Linked DNA regions of Homo sapiens: region 2 is linked to region 1. Evidence: promoter capture Hi-C in 16 types of primary human blood cells and fetal thymus (Javierre and others, 2016). All regions are on one chromosome and are shown on one strand. Each heading gives the region's core, a stretch centred on a gene start or on the middle of the fragment in contact. The rest is flanking DNA. Distances are from core to core; before and after follow the strand shown.

Region 1 (2,843 bases), core at 175-2,674:
AGGCGAGGAATTTTATTTAAGTAAGTTACTTATTCAAGTAAGTTTATTTTTTTATTTTTTGAGACATGGTATGACTCTGTTGCTCAGGCTGGAGTGCGTTTGCTCAATCATAGCTCATTATAACCTCAAACTCCTGGGCTCAAGCGATCCTCCCGCCTCAACCTGAGTAGCTGGGACTACAGGCCCATGCTACCATGCCCTGCTAATTAAAAACAAATTTTTTGCAGAGATAGGGGTCTCACCATGTTGCCCAGGCTGGTCTTGAACTTCTGGTCTCAAGCAATCCTCCTGCCTCGGCCTCCAATGCATTGAGGTTACAGGTAGAGCCACCACCCCCAGCCTCAAGTTAAGTTTAGAAGATAATCACCAATCAAGCATTTTAAATAGCAGTGGCTTGAATATACATAGTAAAAACACAAAATAATAATAATGATAATAATGGCAAAGCTACTCCATATAGTGAAAAGGGCAATGAATTGGGAAGTCAGAAATCTCTAGCTCCATCCATTTATGACAAAACTTAGACTTTATATGTGCTAGATGCTGGAGACTCCAAGGTGAATACTAAACACTTGCTATGGGAAAACAACTTGGTCTTTTCTTGAATCTTCTTCTCACTTGGCAAGTGGAAGCTCACTTGGCTTTGTTTTGAATTAGTTTGAATTAAAAATGTTCAACTAGACTGAAACACATCAAATATATAAAATTCTAGTACTTCATTAAAACGCAATTGACTACTTTTGGAGGTTGCTAGGCATTACTATTATTATAAAAATTGATAAAAGAGGAAAAAATAAAGCATTTATCCTGCCTTTCCTGCATAATCTGTATTTCAGGTAACCAAAGCGTTGTTGAGAGAAAAAAAAAATGCAAAATACATCACTGAGATTAGTTGATGAGCTAAAACTTCTGATAAACGTATCTGTTTTGTCTACCTCAGAGGACACTTGAGGAGAGGCTGTCAAGGGATTAAAGGGAAAGGAAGCACTTGGTGGGCTGCAAAAACTCTCTTTAGGTCTAAGGTCGCATTCTGGCTCCAGAATGCCAGGGCTGCTGGGGCGGGCAGGAGCTGACAGCTCTTCCCGTATCTGGGGCTCACAAGCATCAGGTGCATGGCAGGTCACCCTCCCGGCCAAGGGTGTTAAGCAGGCTCGGTCTGAGTTCTGGGTGCGCCACGCCTGCCTTTCTGGTCTCTGCAGCAGCAACCCCAGCACCCTCAAAGCCTAGCGACCGAGAATGAGAAACCGTGAAAAAAACACGCAGCGGCAGGCCACGCCCAGAGTAGGCCTGCGCGCGCGCGCGCGGCCTCCCACTTCCGGCCACGGGAGCTGGGGGCGGGGCCGAGCGCTGCGCAGGGCTCCGTCGTGTGGCGAGCGGCTGCCCCCTGTCTGCGACGAGCGGCGGGACCCGCGGGCCGCCTCGCAGACTGCTACCCCGCCGCGCTCGCGGCCGCCTGCGTCCTCCTCAGCAGCCCTGCGACAAGTCCCGGCTCCTGCTGCGATTATATTATTTTTATTTTTAATTCACAATTTCCCCTGGCCCTCAAAGCGTTTTTTTGTTTGCGGGCAAGAGGGAGTTAGAGGAGGGTAAAAAAGACTTTGAATGTGAGGCAAAGATGGAGGAAGGCGTCCAGGCCCCAGACTGGGACAGTGATGAAACTGTGATAGAGGGTTCAGTGACGGAGAGCGACCTGGAAGAAAAGGAGCTGCCCTGGAGAAGGTGACCATCATTAGGGCCACAGTGCCTGAACCCTCGCGCCAGGGCGGCCCAGGTGCCCTCTGAGGGGGTCAGAGTTTTGAGTGGAGATCGTGACCAGAACATGTGCTTGTGGGCAGGATCAGAGCCTTGTGGGGCAGCCGTGCCTGAGCTGAGAGCTTGTAAATAAGCAAACACAGTCTGTTCCCACCTACCCCCAACCAGCTAGGGATAAAATGAGGTTTGTACTAGGTGGCTTTATAGCATTTTTCAAAAGGCTTTCCTTTTGGGGGCTTTAAGTCTTTTTGCACAAGCAAAAAAGATCTTGGGTCTGAACTTAACTGCATTTTGTTTCAGGAGACTTCATTTTGCTTCAAGAGACTCGTAGCTCAGTTCTAGGAAAATGGGTAACAGTTTCTCTCAAGAAAAGAATGTGTGATGGGGAAACTGGTCCCTGCCAAACTGGAAACGAATAGTTTTATACGAATCCAAAAAAGTCGGTATTTCAGGTTATCGAAACCTTTCTCTAACATATTCTCTGTGCTAGACACAGGGAAAAGAGGGCAGGGATGAGGCCACTAGGTCTGCTTCATATGTGCTCAGGGCTGTGTCTGGGACTTAAGTTGGATCGTACACAGAATTAGGTCATTCTCCTTTCCCTCTCTCTCTTCTCCAGGATTCTCCTGCCCCCTTTCCTCATCATACCCACTTGCCAGTTCATATGATCAGAAAGACAGGTTTCTTTGAGTGTTAGCCTTTTCACTATACAGCAGTTCCTTACAAGGGGGACAGCCTTTAGCACAGAGTTAAGAAAAGAGAGAAAAAAGGGGGATTCTGTCCACACTTTTCAGGCAATACCGATCCCTTTTCCCAGTTCCTCTGGTAGACACTTTCTCTTGAGTTTTATGTTCCCCAGTTGCCATGGTTGGTGTCTGCTCTGAGGCTAGGGCCAGCCTTGGGGCAGGGCTGGGAGGTGAGAGAGAAAGCAACATAAAGCCCTGGGCTTTGTCCTATACCTTCTGGCATGCAGGGGTCATTTTCCTTGGTCTTCTGGATAAAAATAGGTTTACTGTCTGTGCCCACTGGATGGTTCAAAGCTGAAAGACAAAAAAGAACCAAAAAACCGAAAACAAACTGAAACTCGTCAA
Region 2 (2,850 bases), core at 201-2,700, 1.0 Mb before region 1:
TGCCTAGAGTCTGACAACTGGCCTAAACAAAATGGAAATGTGCTTTGATACAGAGGTAGATTAAGCAAAATGAAAGGAAGAAAAAGACTTCAGATGTCTGGAGGCAATTTTCATTCAGCTAGAGGCAGGTAGAAGTTCAAATGCAATTTTAGAAACTTACAACCCCGATCAAGAGGAACTCGTTCATTAAGTCTGTTTAACAAGTTTTTTGGCCTTGTGAGAGCAAAATGAAGATGTAAACTAGACAGTGTTTGTAAGTTTTATGAAGGTCTGTATAAGGAAAATATAATGACATTTTAAAGCGGGGGGCAGATTAAAAGATGATTTGGTAGCAGGCAGGATTCTTGCTGGGAGATGAATTTCCCTGGAAACTGCTCTCTTTCAGAGCTCAATTTGCACAAAGGCAAATCAAAGTGAGTTTTTAAAAGTACCACATAAGCCCTCTGATAGACTGAATTTACAGAAGTAACAAAGGCAGGAAAAAGCTTCTGCAGAAAATTAAGAGTGATGGACACAAGTCACAAAGCTAAAACGTTTAAGGGTTGCTTCATTCTAGGGTGTTCTCAGAAACAGCGGCTTGTGATTAACCCTAGCCAACACTTGAGGGCACCCTGGGTTCACAAGAGACACACAGACGCTGCGCTATTAAAAGCCTCTTCCCTGATGACTTTCACTTGCATGCGTGAGTGGATGTTCCAAGCAATTCAGACTCTGGGGTTGCCCTGAAAGTGTCAAACCTGGGGGCCACAGAAGTGACAGTGATTTTTCTTTCCTCCAGGGCTCGCATTCACTCAATGAGTCTGCATTCTAAGTCAATTGCTGCATTCTTAAATTCAGCCTGGAAAGGTACTCCCCCAGGGGACAGATACAGACTGGAAGGCCAGCCCCACCCTCTAGCTCTGAGGGCCAGAGACTCAGGCAGAGCAGGCAAAGCACAAAGTGGCCTTGGTGAAAGTCTTAAGAACCCAAGGGTCAAGCATGTGCCCTTGAGAGCAAGGGCTGCAGAGAAGAAATGTTTAATGGGGCATTTTTTGCCTTGCATTTCATAAAAACAACCTAGCACATATTTTGCATTCTGTCCCCTTTATTGATTTTTAAAAAGGCATCAGGCAAACTGGCCTGACACTGTATTTCCTTTCTATGGAGATTGTAAGAATCTGAGCCCTCTTCCCCCAGAAGGGCTGAGATGGGAGCCAAGTTGAAGGAAGAGGCAGGAAGAACTGGGCATTTGGTGGGAGGTGGCTGCGGAGATGAGAGTCTCAGGTGAGGCAGTCCCTCCTCCAGTGGCCCAGTGGCTCAGCAGAACCTGAGGGGTGAGGGGGGCGCATAAGGTGGCCAGGCGTGACCACTCTGATAACGATTTCACCAGGTGAGGGGCTTGGCTTTCACAGGCACGGTGCTGACATGTAAGGGTTACTTGATGGCAACCCACGGACTGGGATTTGGTAGGGAAAATCTAATAGAGCAAAGGGATGCCTGGCTAGACAGACAGAGATCCAAGCTAGGACAGTGGGGCCAAAGGACCACTCTAGGGCCACAGTTAAGAAGGAAATGTGATACATTCCTGAAGGACTAGTGAGAAAAGGACTCTAGAACCAGGGACAAAGGAAAGGGACAACCATGGACATTCTGGGGTGGAGGAAGACAGGGTCCCTGCATGGGAGGCTTGGGTGACATGGGAAGATGGTCTCCAGACCGGCTGATCCTGTCTCCAAACCACGTGCTATCATTATAACCAGAATGCGTTTGTGAATTCCAGTCTGGGAAAACAGACAGATTCAAAAGAGTGAGCTAGAAACATATACTTTATGATTTTGATAATGCTTTATGGTTTTAAAAATCCCTGGCAGGAAAATAAATTTATCTGCAAAACAATCTTTGGCTACCTTGATGTATTAGAAATTACTGGAGAGATCCACAGAGCTTTTTAATGATATTAAGAGTGATCATTAATATTATATGAATAACTGTTCTTCTTTCCATAGGACAGAATAATAGGGAAAAGCTCAAAATCTTAGGTTAACAGAGTATTTCCTGACAGTGAGTATTAAAAAATGTAGACAAAGTAAAATCCATTTGGGGGTGGGGTGGAGAGAGGATTTATAAAAAATAAATATAAATCAACACTTAGAGTCTCATTTGTACCAGGAAAAGGGGTGGACCCCAGCCAATATGCCTGTCTCAGATGCTTTTGATCATTTTCTTCTACCCTCAGATAGCAATGTGATTGTTTCTTGGTTACAATAATAATACATGTCTATGTGGCAAGCAATACAGAAAATAAAAGAAGTAAATAACTCCAAGTTTCATCACTCAGAGATAAACATAATTAACATTTTGGATTTAGTACAATTATTAGTATTTAATTAAGCCATGAGAAGATTTAGTGACAGTCTTGGGGAAAGTAGAAGCTTCATTCATTAAGATTTTTGAAATCTGAATTATGGTTCAGAACACATCAGAGGCAGTCTGTGTATTTATTTCACATTGAATGTTTGGGCATATCTATGTCAGATGTTACCTTCCATGCCTGGAAATTTCCATGGAAAATAGGCAGTTCATAAGGGCTAAAAGAGTGAGATCAAGTGAGTGACACCATTGTAAAGCTAAACATGGAGGTTTGAGTAATGTTTGCCTTCTGTCTCACTCCAGCTGGGGCTCTCAGAACCACTTCCACCGACACTCTCAAGGAATAGATGGAAAAGTAGGGATGCAAATAATGCTGTTATTATGCCACATTGGCTGGCTGGATGTGTAGATGCATTACATTTATTTTTAAATTTTTAATATCTCTCTCTCTCTCTCTATATATATATATATATACACACACACATATATATACACACACAT

Evidence for each region. The method cuts DNA at HindIII sites, captures the fragments that hold promoters and counts their contacts. A CHiCAGO score of 5 or more calls a contact.
Region 2: a fragment that was not itself captured here is called in contact with the fragment with the promoter of ANKRD31 in region 1 in 4 of 17 cell types (total B cells, endothelial precursors, naive B cells and 1 more); the score reaches 8.9 in total B cells.

What each region holds. Positions count from the first base shown.
Region 1 is chr5:75,235,459-75,238,301 of GRCh38, reverse strand. It overlaps ANKRD31 (ankyrin repeat domain 31), which reads left to right and starts at 1,424. Exons shown (of 26, transcript NM_001372053.1): 1 at 1,424-1,719. The coding sequence starts at 1,616. It overlaps LOC124901006 (a long non-coding RNA gene), which reads right to left and starts at 1,264. Exons shown (of 2, transcript XR_007058823.1): 1 at 936-1,264. RefSeq lists a silencer at 1,184-1,483 and an enhancer at 1,534-1,703. The HindIII fragment of the contact is 5,895 bases long and covers 1-2,843 here.
Region 2 is chr5:76,254,214-76,257,063 of GRCh38, reverse strand. The region is part of intron 4 of SV2C (synaptic vesicle glycoprotein 2C); the gene reads right to left. Among named protein-coding and RNA genes, the nearest start is that of SV2C-AS2, 56 kb to the left of the region's middle. The HindIII fragment of the contact is 1,926 bases long and covers 488-2,413 here.